Linked DNA regions of Homo sapiens: regions 1, 3, 4 and 5 are each linked to region 2. Evidence: promoter capture Hi-C in human tissues and cell types (Jung and others, 2019). All regions are on one chromosome and are shown on one strand. Each heading gives the region's core, a stretch centred on a gene start or on the middle of the fragment in contact. The rest is flanking DNA. Distances are from core to core; before and after follow the strand shown. Region 1 overlaps GNG7 (G protein subunit gamma 7). Region 2 holds the start of ZNF555 (zinc finger protein 555). Region 3 holds the start of TLE2 (TLE family member 2, transcriptional corepressor). Region 4 holds the start of GNA11 (G protein subunit alpha 11). Region 5 overlaps GNG7 (G protein subunit gamma 7).

Evidence for each region. The method cuts DNA at HindIII sites, captures the fragments that hold promoters and counts their contacts. A contact is called where the count stands out against the background at its distance.
Region 1: a fragment that was not itself captured here is called in contact with the fragment with the promoter of ZNF555 in region 2 in 1 of the 25 tissues and cell types used here (IMR-90 fibroblasts).
Region 3: a contact is called between the fragment with the promoter of TLE2 here and the fragment with the promoter of ZNF555 in region 2, in 3 of the 25 tissues and cell types used here (bladder, lymphoblastoid cells and mesendoderm cells).
Region 4: a contact is called between the fragment with the promoter of GNA11 here and the fragment with the promoter of ZNF555 in region 2, in 5 of the 25 tissues and cell types used here (IMR-90 fibroblasts, aorta, pancreas and 2 more).
Region 5: a contact is called between a fragment that was not itself captured here and the fragment with the promoter of ZNF555 in region 2, in 1 of the 25 tissues and cell types used here (IMR-90 fibroblasts).

The regions. Positions count from the first base shown.
Region 1 is chr19:2,687,524-2,690,223 of GRCh38, forward strand. The region is part of intron 1 of GNG7 (G protein subunit gamma 7); the gene reads right to left. Among named protein-coding and RNA genes, the nearest start is that of GNG7, 14 kb to the right of the region's middle. The HindIII fragment of the contact is 8,454 bases long and covers 1-2,700 here.
Region 2 is chr19:2,840,105-2,842,804 of GRCh38, forward strand. It overlaps ZNF555 (zinc finger protein 555), which reads left to right and starts at 1,371. Exons shown (of 4, transcript NM_152791.5): 1 at 1,371-1,471. The coding sequence starts at 1,469. RefSeq lists silencers at 832-941, 952-1,141, 1,362-1,661, 1,702-1,751. The HindIII fragment of the contact is 15,507 bases long and covers 1-2,700 here.
Region 3 is chr19:3,027,982-3,030,705 of GRCh38, forward strand. It overlaps TLE2 (TLE family member 2, transcriptional corepressor), which reads right to left and starts at 1,299. Exons shown (of 20, transcript NM_003260.5): 1 at 900-1,299; 2 at 725-822; 3 at 338-401. The coding sequence starts at 923. The HindIII fragment of the contact is 30,131 bases long and covers 1-2,724 here.
Region 4 is chr19:3,093,087-3,095,786 of GRCh38, forward strand. It overlaps GNA11 (G protein subunit alpha 11), which reads left to right and starts at 1,276. Exons shown (of 7, transcript NM_002067.5): 1 at 1,276-1,701. The coding sequence starts at 1,566. RefSeq lists silencers at 945-1,194, 1,215-1,334, 1,655-1,784 and enhancers at 1,081-2,068, 2,069-2,700. The HindIII fragment of the contact is 21,058 bases long and covers 1-2,700 here.
Region 5 is chr19:2,664,578-2,667,277 of GRCh38, forward strand. The region is part of intron 1 of GNG7 (G protein subunit gamma 7); the gene reads right to left. Among named protein-coding and RNA genes, the nearest start is that of MIR7850, 35 kb to the left of the region's middle. The HindIII fragment of the contact is 9,228 bases long and covers 1-2,700 here.

The DNA of each region.
Region 1 (2,700 bases), core at 1-2,500, 150 kb before region 2:
GAGAATCGCTTGAGCCCGGGAGGCAGAGGTTGCGGTGAGCCGAGATCGCACCATTGCACTCCAGCCTGGGCAACAAGAGTGAAACTCCATCTCAAAAAACAAACAAACAAAAAAAAGTGCTGGCATGACAGGAGTAAGCCACCAGCCTGGCCAAGAAGTTTAAATCATGATGCCGGGCGCGGTGGCTCACGCCTGTAATTCCAGCACTTTGGGAGGCCGAGGCAGGCAGATCACATGGTCAGGAGTTCGAGACCAGCCTGGCCAACACGGCGAAACCCCATCTCTACTAAAAATACAAAAAATTAGCCGGGCAAGGTGGCACGCACCTGTAATCCCAACTATTTGGGAGGCTGAGGCAGGAGAATCAGTTGAACCTGAGTGAGCTGAGATCGTGCCACTGTACTCCAACCTGGGCAACAAGAACAAAACTCTGCCTCCAGATAAAATAGCCGGGCGCGGTGGCTCACGCCTGTAATCCCAGCACTTTGGGAGGCCGAGCTGGGCAGATCACAAGGTCAGGAGATCGAGACTATCCTGGCTAACACGGTGAAACCCCGTCCCTACTAAAAATAACAAAAAATTAGCCGGGCATGGTGGCGGGTGCCTGTAGTCCCAGTTACTCGGGAGGCTGAGGCAGGAGAATGGTGTAAACCCAGGAGGTGGAGCTTGCAGTGAGCCAAGATCGCGCCACTGCACTCCAGCCTGGGCGACAGAGCGAGACTCCGTCTCAACAAAAGAAAAAAGAAATCATGATGCAAAGATGAAAAGCAAAGTTTGCCGTACGAAGGATGGAGTCGGTGTCAGTGCTCTGGGGAAGTGGGGAGTTCCCTCAGCAAGAATGACCTCAGAGTAGCTGGTAGGTGGGCTAAGGCCACCTGGGCTGGGAGAACCAGGTTAACAGCACCAGTAGGAAGTCACCAGGGTCTCAAGGATCCCCAGCAGGGAGAGAGCAACAGGGCACCTCACCCCTACGTGTTCTTTCCCGAAACCCGTAACCCCGGTCTGATCACGAGAGAAATATCTGACAAACCTAGATCAGAAGTAAGTCTGCACAATACCCAGCCGGTCCCCCTAAGACCGTCCAGGTCACGAGAGGTAACGAACATCTAAGACATGGTCCCAACCTGGAAGAACCCCCGGAGACGAGCCGGCTAAATGTCACGTGGGATTCTAGATGGGTCCTGGGGCAGGAAAGGACATTAGGGGAAGATTAATGACATTTGAATAAAGTGTGGAGTTGAGAGAAATGAACCCATTGTTAGCCGGGCACAGTGGCTCCCGTCTGTCCTCCTAACACTTTGGGAGTCCGGGGTGGCAGGATCACTTGTGTTCAGGAGTTCGAGACCAGCCTAGGCAAAATAGCGAGACCTCATCTCTACAATAAAACAAAAATTAGCCAGGCACGGGGTTGCGTGCCTGTGGTCCCAGCTACTCAGGAGGCTGAGGTGGGAGGATCGCTTGAGCCCAGGAGTTGGAGGCTACAGTGAGCCATGATCACTCCACTGCACTTAGCCTGGGCGACAGAGTAAGACTCTGTCTCAAAAAAAAATGTAAATGTAAATTTAAAAAATATTACTTTTAATGGCAAAGACCACAATTATGTTTGCCCCAACATAATAAATACATACAATAAATAAATAAATAAGAAAAAAATAAACAAAAATAAAAATAATGCAAAAAAAAAGGGGGAAAAAAATGCCAATCATACTATGCATGGCACCGTGTTATAGGGGAAAAAAAATAATTATATAAAATTGTTCCCAAATCATTAAGCCCTTCTCATTATGGAGGCTACAGGAATAAACGCTCCTAACAAGACCACATTTGGGCCGGGCTCGGTGGGCCTCCCAGCACTTTGGGAGGCCAAGGCGGGTGGATCACCTGAGGTCAGAAGTTCGAGACCAGCCTGGCCATCATGGTGAAACCCCGTCTCTACTAAAAATACAAAAAATAGCCGGGTGTGGTGGTGGACGCCTGTAATCCCAGCTACTCAGGAGGCTAAGGCAGGAGGATCACTTGAACCTGGGAGGCGGAGGCTGCAGTGAGCTGAGATGGCGCCATTGCACTCCAGCCTGGGCTACAGAGTGAGACTCCAACTCAAAAAAAAAAAAAAAAAAAAAAAAAAACCATATTCGATGCAATTCTCTGAAGTTAACTGTTAGAGCTCTGACAACACAGAGGCTGAAATGACATGACAAATGCTAAAGTACAAAGTTCCAAGATCAAGTCCCAGCATGACCACTAACTCGTGAAACCTCCAGACCTCAGTTTTCCCATGCATAAAGCGTGCGAGATGGACTCGAGGGCCAACACGCTTTTTCGGTAAGAGTCCAGATACCCAGTGTTTTCAGCCTTGCGGTGGAGCCACTCTCTACGGCAACGACTTAACTACACCATGGTAGCAGAATACACAGAGCAGTGTGCCAATAAAACATTATTTCTGGACACTAAAATCTGAATGCCATATAATTGTCATGTGTCATGGCCTTTTCTTTGACTTTTGTTTTTTGCTTCTTTTGGCGGCGGGTAGAAGCAGGGCTTCCTTTGACTTTTTTTTCCAACCATTTAAAAATGGAGGCCGGGCACGGTGGCTCACGTCTGTAATCCCAGCACTTTGGGAGGCCGAAGCGAAAGGATCACTTGAGGTCAGGAGTTCGAGACCAGCCTGGCCAACATGGTGAAACCCCATCTCTACTAAAA
Region 2 (2,700 bases), core at 121-2,620:
TGTTAGCCAGGATGGTCTCGATCTCCTGACCTCGTGATCCGCCCGCCTCGGCCTCCCAAAGTGCTGGGATTACAGGCGTGAGCCACCGTGCCCGGCCTCAAGCGATTCTCTTGCCTCAGCCTCCCTAGCTGGGATTACAGGTGCGCGCCACCACGCCCGGCTAATTTTGTATTTTTAGTAGAGACAGGGTTTTGCCATGTTGGGCAGGCTGGTCTTGAACTCCTGACCTCAGGTGATCCGCCCGCCTCGGCCTCCCAAAGTGCTGGGATTACAGGCGTGAGCCACAGCGCCCGGCCAGCTTTTCAATCTTCCAAATTTTGGGGGGATGTACTTAAAAAAATGATCTGAAAACATTTTCCTTAGAGTTTAAAATATGAACTTGAGAGTTTTTTTGTTTTTTAATATGGAGTCTCACTCTGTCGCCCAGGCTAGACTGCAGTGGGGCGATCTCGGGTCACTACAACCTCCACCTCTCGGGTTCAAGCAATTCTCCTGCCCCAGCATCCCCAGTAGCTGAGATTACAGGCGCCCGGCACCACGCCGGGCTGATTTCTGTATTTTTAGTAGAGAAAGGGTTTCACCATATTGGCCACGATGGTCTCAAACTCCTGAACTCAGATGATCCGTCCACCTCGGTCTCCCAAAGTGCTGGGATTACAGGCGTGAGCCACTGCGCCCAGCCAAATGTGAGGGTTTTAATGAACATCTCATATCTTCTGGTTGATTTGAGCAAAGCTCCTGCCCCCTGCCAGGCTTTGGGTTCGGCCTCCCCCAGACCGGGTCTCCGGATTCGCAGCCCCCTGGGCGGGGTCTCCATGTCGCCCGCAGCGCGATGACGTCACGTCTGCGGGTCCCGCCCCCACGTAGGTCTCGGCCCTTCGGACCCGGCGCCCAGCCCCCGTTCGCCCTGCCAGGCCCGGGCCGCCCGCTTGCATCCACCTCCTGTCCGGACAAGGGGTCGCCTCGTGAGGAAACTAGTCTGGAGTTCCCACGCCCGTCCCGGAGGAGGACGCGGGCGGGGCGCCCGAACTGCGGGGAGAGGGCGATTCCGCCCCGGGCTGAAACCAGTTCGCCCAGAAGCCAGTGTCCCCGCAGGGCGGGACAGCCACGCGTGTTCGCAACGCTCCCGTCACTCACCGGCAGGGGGTGGGCCCTAGGGAACTACCCAGTCAGGACGGGCGGGGGCGGGGCCGAGACAAGTATCCAATGAGGGACGCCCAATCGGAATCCGGGGAACTGCCCAATTTACAGCGCCAGGGGACGGACTGGGGAATTCTCCAATCAGAGTCGCCGACGTTGGCAGCACTGTCCAATCAGAAGCGCGGCTTCCCGAGCTCTGTCTAATCAGGCCCCTGGGACGGGACGCCTCTGTCCTAGCCGTGAGTGCCCCGCCTGCCCCTAGCGGTCCCTGGCGTCCCGGTTCCTGTCGCGCTCACCTGCGCCGGTAGCGAAGAAATCGCCCCGGGACATGGTGAGTGTGGCGCAGGAGAGGATCCCGGTGCGGGGCAGCAGGAACCGGCGACCGCCCGAGACCGCGGCTTGGGGGGAGCTGAGGGACGCGGGGGGCGGCCCCGGCGAGGGCGGCGCAGGACGGGAGCCTGGGCCCCGGGGGTCCCGCCCGGCCCCGCCTCCCGCGCTGAGGTCGCGGCTAGGGCGCTCCGAGCTCCGGGTCCCCGCCCGCCTCTGGCCCCAAGGCTGCAGAGCGGGGAGCGGCGCCCGGAGCCCGACTCCGTCCCCGTCGTCCCGGGGTCCCCGCGTCCCTGCGCTCCCGACCCCCCACGCCCCGCCCGGGGCCGCGACGCCTCGGAGCGTTTCGCTGCGGCTTCGGGACCCCCGGGCCGCGGGAGGCAGAGTCGCCCGAGACCCCGAGGTGCGGTCCAGGCTCCCCCGGGACCCGCCCTGGGGCCGACGCCGCGGTGCCTCCTGGGGTGCGGGTCCCTGGTCGGTGCCGCCTCCGCTCGCGCTCCCGCGGCTCAGCTCCTTGGAGGCCCCGCGCCTCCGGCCGCGGTCTCTGGGGGACCCTGGGTTCCTCCCGGGACAGCCCGGGAGCGGTGGGGCCTCGGCGGGGGCGGAGACGCCCCCACCTGCAAAGGCAGCCCCTGGGGCGTGCGAGGTTTCCTCCCCTGAGTCCCGGTTTTCCTTCTTGAGGACTTCTTGTCCCCTCTGACCCCAAGATGCCTGGGGTAGGTAAGGGGAAAAAAAACAAGGGTTCCTGGTCCCTGGGCTCTCACACACAAGGAAGAAAAGTAACTGAAAAGACTAGAGAAACAAGGGAGAGCGAGGACCCCAAAAGCAAACGCACGCAGACCCACAGCGGGGACGCCCGGGAGGCTGGTGCATTAGTGTCCTCGGACTGCTGTAGCAACTGACTGCAAACGAGGGGGCTAAAACCACGGAAATATATTCTTTCACGGTTCCCTAGAAAGTGTGGATTTGAAGACGTTTCTCAGTTCTGTTTTGAGTACTAGCAATGGGATTCCTTGCTGAGGCAACACCTGAGTTGGGGGTGGGAGGGCGTCCGTCGTGGTAGCCTGGCCAGACTTGACCCCTCCCTGGGTTTGTCACTGTGAAAAGATTTTCCTTTTTTCGAGTCAGCAGTTTTTAGGAAGTGAAACGTACATTTAATTAGTAGAAGTTGGAAGATAAAATATTTCCAGGCCGGGCGCGGTGGCTCAAGCCTGTCATCCCAGCACTGTGACA
Region 3 (2,724 bases), core at 49-2,548, 190 kb after region 2:
CAGGAAGCAGAGCCCCCCCCAGCTCCACGGGGTCCCAGAGGAGGAAGCGGGGGCTCTGCCTGGAAGGGCCCCCTCTACTCTCCCCAGAGAGGCAGGGCAGGTAGGAAGTGTCCAGAGGCCCTGGCCCGACAGAGACTCCCATCAGGCGAGGGGTCCTCCCTGTCTCCCCATTCCCAGAGCTGGGAGGACCCTCCTAGAGAGCCTGAAATCCCAACCTGCCCAATGTACAGACGGGGAAGACGAGGTTCGGAGTGGGGCAGGGACCTACCCCAGAGTCCACCGTGACTCAAAGCCCTGCCCGCCTCTCCCCTCACCCTGGCATCATAAGTGCCCTCACCATGACATAATGTCGCTGCATTTCCGTCTTCTCGCTGGCCAGCTTCTCACATTCTAGCTTGAGGCTGAGAAGAAGAGAGAGGGCAAGGGGCTCCCACCCGCCCCATGTGGGCCGGCTTCCAAAGTGAGAGGCTGGATCTCCCCCTCCCGACTTCCTTACAGACCTCCCCCCACCTCCTGTCCCAGTCCCTCCCCGCCCCTTCCTGGGCTCCAAATGCCCCAGCTCTGACTGTCCCCAGACCCCTCTGCACCTGCGCTTCCACCTGGAGGCCTTTGTCGCGCCCCCCCTCCAACCGGGAGCCCCTCCTCCCCGCCCTATACCCCGGAGGCCTCGCCCCGCCCCGGCGCCCAGGTGAACTCCCGCGGCCCCTGGGGCGGCCCCCCTCACCTGTGGTATTGAGCCTGAAGAAACTGGAATTCTTCTTTGATGCGGTCGCAGATCTCCAAGATCGAGAACTTGAAGGGCTGGCCGGACTGGAGCGGGGTCTGGGGGGGGTGTGGGGGAAACGTCAGGGTCTGAGTTCCCGGACACTGGGGGCCCCCTCCCCGCAGTCCGCACTCACCGGGTGCCTTCCCTGGGGGTACATCCTGCCGATCCGAAAAGCCCCCCAGGCGCCACCAGAGCTTGATGATATGGAGGCGGCAAGAGTGGGGGAGGCTGAAGTGGGGTGGTGGGGAGGCTGCCCGAAGAAAGAGGGAGGAGGGAGAAGCGGCGCGGGGCAAGGGACCCTGGAGTCCCTGGCGCGCCCCCAAGCGCGCGCGCCCGGGGTCGTGGGAGCCCCTCCCCGGGTTGGGGTGCGCGGGGCGAGCGGGGCGGGCAGGGGCAGCGGCCGGGGCGGGAGCGCGGCGAGGGCGGCCGCGGCAGCCGGCGCAGAAGGTCGGGCGCGCCGCGGCCGGGTTTCGGTGGCGGCGGCGCGGGCGGCGGGCCCCGCGCGGAGCCGCCTCCCTCCGGCGGGGCTCGGCCGGGAGCCGCGGGCTGAGCCGCCTTAAGGTGGCGCCGCCGCCCCCACGCGCCCGCGGCCCGCCCCGCGCCCACCCCCGCGCACCGCCCCTCCCCGCGCCCGCGCCCCCCCCGGCCCCCGGGCACCCGCCCCCTTCCTTCAGTCCCTGGGCCGTTGGGGAAACTGAGGCCGGGTGGGGAGGCGCCCAGTGCCTTAAAACAGGGTCCCCACCCCCTCCCGGAGGGGCGGGAGAAGAAAAACCAGTGAAGAAATTCACACCGTGTTACCCACCGTGGGAGCGGGGGGGGGGGCTTGCGGGGAGCGGGGACCAGTCTGGAGTCGGAAATGGCTTTTCTGAGCAAGTGACATTGGGTTGAGATTGAAGGGTCAGCAGGACGCAGCCTTGCCAAGCGCTGGCAGGGAACCCTGCCAGAAAGGGAATCTCACAGCAAACACTGCTTCCCAGATCATGCCGGGCCCTCGCCCTCTGGGGGCCTCAGTAGTCTCTGCAAAAGGTCAGGGGTGGTGCGCTATCTTTAGGGTTTAATTTTTTGCAGAGATAGGGTCTCCCTGTGTTGCCCAGGCTGGAGTACAGTGGGGCAATCATGGCTCACTGCAGCCTCGAACTCCTGGGCTCAAGCGATCCTTCCCCCTCAGCTTCTCCAGTAGCTGGGACTACAGGTGTGCACCACCACGCCCAGCTAATTTTTTAATTTTTTGCAGAGATGGAGTAGGGGGGCGTCTCACTATGTTGCCCAGGCTGGTCTTGAACTCCTGGACTCAAGCCTCTCTCTTCGGCCTTCCAAAGTGCTGGGATTACGGGCGGGAGCCACCGCACTGGGCACTGCACTTAAATGAGATAGTGCATGAACGCTGTCAGCCTCTCCCTACACAGAGCAAACTTCCACAGATGGGAATTGTGTTCCTACTGCCATCACCAGTGGACTGGGCTGTCTCCCCTCTCAGACTGGGTTTCTTGAAGGCAGGAGCCGTGTCCCACTCAGAACTGGAAGAACCACAGCTCTGCCATCAGACTCAAGTCTCTCCCACGGCAAAGGCTCCAGCCCCGACCAGAGACCACAGACATCCAGCCAGCATCCTTCAGGCCCACCCGGGGAGTGGGAAGTTCTTATTCTCTTTGGAGAAACCTCAGGAGAGGTTTGTGAAGTCAATCAACAAACGTGTACTAAATGCATACTGTGGACCACACACTGCTGTAGACACTGGGGCACAGCTGGGAACAAAACAGAGAAAAATCCATGCCCCTTGATGACACTTGGACTTGTGTCCTTAGGTGATCGAGTACCTAATGGTACCTAAGGGTTAGGGTTACAAAAACCCATTTTGTACCCTTACAAAAGGGCACAAGAGCCCTTATCAATGGGCCAGGGGTGGTGGGTCATGCCTGTAGCTCCAGCACTTTGGGAAGCTGAGGAGGGAGGATCGC
Region 4 (2,700 bases), core at 26-2,525, 250 kb after region 2:
AAGATATCCCTTGGGTAGGGTTAGCTTAACGGGCTTACAGCAGTGCCTGGTATCCTGTAGGCATTTCATGAATGCGTATACCTGGCCTGGAATGGTGCAGGCACTGCAGTAAGGCCTGATTGACACCTGATGGACAGCAGGCACTCCATTAATCTCTGGTCCGTGCCTGGCATATAGAATGTGTCCCATTAATGCCTGATACACAGTAGGTGTCCCATTAACGCTTTTTAATTTTTTTTTTTGAGACAGAGTCTCGCTCTGTCGCCCAGGCTGGAGTGCAGTGGCATGATCTCAGCTCACTGCAAGTTCCGTCTCCCGGGTTCACGCCATTCTCCTGCCTCAGCCTCCCGAGTAGCTGGGACTACAGGCGCCCGCCACCACGCCCGGCTAATTTTTTGTATTTTTAGTAGAGACGGGGTTTCACCGTGTCAGCCAGGATAGTCTCGATCTCCTGACCTCGTGATCCACCCGCCTCGGCCTCCCAAAGTGCTGGGATTACAGGCGTGAGCCACCGCGCCCGGCCCTCTTTTTTTTTTTTTTTCTTTGGAGACGGAGTTTCGTTCTTGTTGCCCAGGCTGGAGTGCAATGGCGTGATCTCGGCTCACTGCAACCTCCGCCTCCTGGGTTCAAGTGATTCTCCTGCCTCAGCCTCCCGAGTAGCTGGGATTACGGGCGTGCACCACCACGCCGGGCTAATTTTGTAGTTTTAGTAGAGACGGCGTTTCTCCCTGTTGGTCAGGCTGGTCTCGAACTCCAGACCTCAGGTGATCCGCCCGCCTCGGCCTTCCAAAGTGCTGGGATTACAGGCGTGAGCCACCGCGCCCGACCTCCATTAACGCTTTTTAATGGATGAGTGAAGGTTCCTGTCAGGCAATGTCAGGGCGCTTCCCGGGGGCAGCGACTGCTGCCCAGGCACCTGGAGACCCAGAGAGCGCAGCGGCCGCGTGCGCGCCTCCGCCACCGCGCCTGGGCCGAGCCGAGCGGGACCGAGCGGGGCCGAACGGAGCCGAGCGGAGCCGAGCCTGGCCGGGCCGAGTCCGCCACATTCCCACAATCCCGGGCGGCCCCGCCCCGGCTCCCGGCTGCGCGTCCCCCTTCCCACGTCGGCGCAACCAAACCCGCGGGCCCCCCGCCCTCGCCCCGCCCCGCCCCTTTCGCGCCCGCCGACGCCCCGCCCAGGCCGCTAGTCCCGCCCCCATGGTGGGCGCGCTTGGCCGCCGGCCCCTCCCATTGGCCGCACCGTCTGCCCGTCGCGGGCTGCGCTCCCAGCCTGCTAGGTTGTCCGGCGCTGTCGCTCGGTTGCGGCGGCTGCGGTTGGCGGTGGCTGCGGCGGCGGCGCGGGCTGAGTGCGGCCGCGCGGGAGTCCGCGGCTGGCGCGGCCCGAGCGGGGACCCGGCGGCTCGCCAGGCGGCGGCCGAGGCGGGGCGGGCCGGCCCGGGGCCGAGGGCCGGTGGCCGAGGCCGGAGGGCCGCGGCGGGCGGCGGCCGAGGCGGCTCCGGCCAGGGCCGGGCCGGGGGCCGGGGGGCGGCGGCGGGCAGGCGGCCGCGTCGGCCGGGGCCGGGACGATGACTCTGGAGTCCATGATGGCGTGTTGCCTGAGCGATGAGGTGAAGGAGTCCAAGCGGATCAACGCCGAGATCGAGAAGCAGCTGCGGCGGGACAAGCGCGACGCCCGGCGCGAGCTCAAGCTGCTGCTGCTCGGTGAGTGCGGCCCCCGGGCCTGCCGGCTGCGGGCCCTGCCCTGCCTGTGCCTGCCCTGCCTGTCCGGGTCGGGCCGGGACCCTCCGGGGTCAGCCCTGCCTGTGCCGTCCGGGTCGCGAGACCCTCCGGGGTCAGCCCTGCCTGTGCCTTCCCTGCCTGTCCGGGTCGCGGGACCCTCGAGTGTCAGCCCTGCCTGTGCCTTCACTGCCTGTCCGGGTCGGGGCGGGGCCCTCCGGGATCAGCCCTGCCTGTGTCGTCTGGGTCGGCTCGGGACCCTCTGGGGTCAGCCCTGCCTTTGCTGTCTAGGTCGGCACCTGGGACCCTCCGGGGTCAGCTGCGGGCCCCTGATTTCTTTGGGGTCAGCCCCTGCCTTAACTGTTCATGTTGGCACCTGGGACTCTCCGGTGTCAGCCTGTGTCTGTCCTGTCTGGATCAGGCCCCCGATCACTCCTAGGTCAGCTCCCAGCTTCTGCTGTCTACATTGGGCCTCCAGGACTCTTCAGGATTTGCCCTCTGTTCCTTCTCAAGGGACCAGTCCCTCCCTGCACAGGGACCTTCTGACCTTACCCCACCGGAGTACCCACCCCTCGCTACCCCTTCAGGGCCAGACCTTTGGGCTGTAACCCACAGGGCACACTCACCCCTCACTGCTCAGGGCCCCGCGTTGACCCTTCCCTCCAGGCAGAGCCCTGTACACTCCATGCAGGCCCTGTACCCTCCATGCAGGCCCTGTACACCCCCCCATCCCCCCGAAGACTCCTCCGTGTCCCCTATCCCCACATTCCCTTCAGGGCCATTCTCCTGCCTTCCTGTTCCGGGAAACCCCGTACTCCTCTTGGCTGGAATGCACCCTGTGGGAAAAAGACAGTCTTTCCTCTCCTCAGGGTTCCGCTCAGCTGAGGGTGGGGCGGTTGACACCTGAGGGAGCCTTTGCTTGTTGTCCCAAGCAGCTATCTCGGCAGCCTCCCCCGCCCCCTTCCTTAGAGTCCTGGTGGGAGC
Region 5 (2,700 bases), core at 45-2,544, 180 kb before region 2:
ACAATCAGACGGTTGGCTCTGTGTCCTGCACCCTCAGTGCTCTAGAGACCCTCCTCACCCAGTCCTCTAGGTCACTCTGGGAGGATGGCCCCGGCTGACACCGTCTGCCCCATCGGGAATCTATTCTGGTGTCTACTGTGAGCAGGGAGCAAACTCATTTTTTTGCCAGTTAATGCAAGGTCTCTCCCCTGGAAACCGTGGACATTCAGAGCTGGGTCATTCTCTAGGGTGCAGCTGTCCCGGACACTGCAGGGTGCTGAGCAGTGTCCCTGGCCTCCACCCACTCCACGCCACGACCATCCTCAAGTTGTGACAACGACAAATGTCCTCAGACAACACCCAGTGTCCCCTGGGGCAGAATCACCCTCAGTTGACACCCCCTGAATTAGGAAATTCCACGGACCCCCAAGATACTCTGTCCCCTGATCTTCTGTCCTGCTGAGGTCCCAGGAGGCTGCACACATTGAAATCCACACCTTTAGTTGGGGGGAGGGAGAGAGGAGGTGAATCCCACGAGCTGGGGTCCCCTGGTTTACACCGTCTGCCCCATCAGGAGTGTGTCCTGGTGAGCAGGAAGCAGACTCCATTTCTTCTCCAAATAATGAATGCTGAGTCTCTCCTCCCAGGCACGGTGGACACTGGGGCTGTACCATTCTCTGGGATGGAGCCGTCCTGAGCACTGCAGCACGCTGAGCGGCATCCGTGACCTCCAGCCACTGCATGCCCGGAGCACTTCTCAATGGTGACAGCCACAAATGTCCCCAGACATGGCCCAGTGTCCCCTGGGGGGGGGGGGGCAGGATCACCCTGCCGTGCTGGACAGTCCTCGCCACACCCCACCTCTTGGAACTGGAATGTCTGGTGAGACGGGCAACAAGGATTTGGGAAGAGGGCCATGCGGGACAAAAAAAAGAAAGAAAATGAGAACGAACGGATTTCTATTTCCCCTCAATGTGAAAATAGCTCCACTGAGTCCCGAGGAAGGATTGGGTGGGGACGTACGCTCTGGTATGGCCAAGGTGGAGTGCTGGACAAGAGCTACTCCATTCTGACTTCACGACTCGCTGTCTGGCTGGGTGACCTTCAGTCCCTTGCCACTGTCGCTGTGCCTCAGTTTCCCACTCTGTAGAATGCACATCGAAGCAGCATCCACCCTGTGAGACTGGTTTTGGAGATTACATAAATGAGTATCTATAAAATGTTTAAAGTGGTGTCTGAGCCATGGGTCATGGCACATACTGGCTTTATTATTTAGAACCTGGATTACCTCCTTTTATTATTCTTTTTCAATTTATTTTACTTATTTTTTGAGATGGAGTCTTGCTCTGTCATCCAGGCTAGAGTGCAGTGGTGCGAACTTGGCTCACTGCCTCTGCCTCCCGGGTTCAAGTGATTCTCCTGCCTCAGTCCCCCATATAGCCAGTATTAGAGGCGCCCGCCACCACGCCCAGCTAATTTTTGTATTTTTAGTAGAGACAGGGTTTCACCATGTTGGTCAGGCTGGTCTCGAACTCCTGACCTCAGGTGATCTGCCTGCTTCAGCCTCCCAAAGTGCCACCGTGCCCGGCTTATGTTTTAATTTTTATTGTATTTATTTATTCATTTTTATTTTGAGACAGAGTCTTGCTCTTGTCGCCCAGGCTGGAGTGCAGTGGCACGATCTCAGCTCACTGCAAACTCAGCCTCCCGGGTTCAAGGGATTCTCCTGCCTCAGCCTCCCGAGTAGCTGGGATTACAGGCACCTGCCAACATGCCCGGCTAATTTCTGTATTTTTAGTAGAGATGGGGTTTCGCCATGTCGGCCAGGCTGGTCTTAAACTCTTGACCTCAGGTGATCTGCCCACCTCAGCCTCCCAACGTCCTGGGATTACATAGGTGTGAGCCACCATGCCTGCTTTTTTAGTTTTTACTTTTCATAGAGATAGGATCTTGCTATGTTGCCCAGACTGGCCTTGAACTCCTGGGCTCAAGCGATCCTCCCTGCTCAGCCTCCCCAAGTGCTGGGATTACAAGTGTGAGCCACCTTGCCTGGCCAGATTACCTCCTTTCTGGACTAGACCAGAGCACAGCAAAGTGTTTCTGTCTAGGGCAGGATGTAAAAATTTTCAGCCTTACGGAACATATGTTCTCTGTTGCAGCTACACAGTTCTGCTGTTGTATTTTGAAAGCAGCCATAGACTATGCATAAATAAATGGGCATGGCCCATCGTGTGCCAATAAAACTTTATTTATAGTAACAGGTGGCCTGGATTTGCCCCCAAGGCCATTGGTTGAGACCCTCGCAAAACAGTCTAAGACAAAATAGCACCATTTCAGCAACTAAATACTCTCATCTAGGCAGTGTTCCAGTCTTCCATCCTGAAATTAGATGAGGGTCCTGTCAAAAAAGATTCACCTCCGATCCTCAACATCACACGGCAGAGTTAGCACAGAGCATCCCTTCACACAAAACACACACTCATCCGGGCGCGGTGGCTCACGCCTGTAATCCCAGCACTTTGGGAGGCTGAGGCGGGTGGATCACTTGAGGTCAGGAGTTCGAGACCAGCCTGGCTAACATGGTGAAACCCAACCCGTCTCTATTAAAAATACAAAAATCAGCCGGGCAAGGTGCTGCGCCTGTAATCCCGGATACTTGGGAGGCTGAGGCGGCAGAATCGCTTGAACCCGGGAGGCGGAGGTTGCAGTGAGCAGAGATCA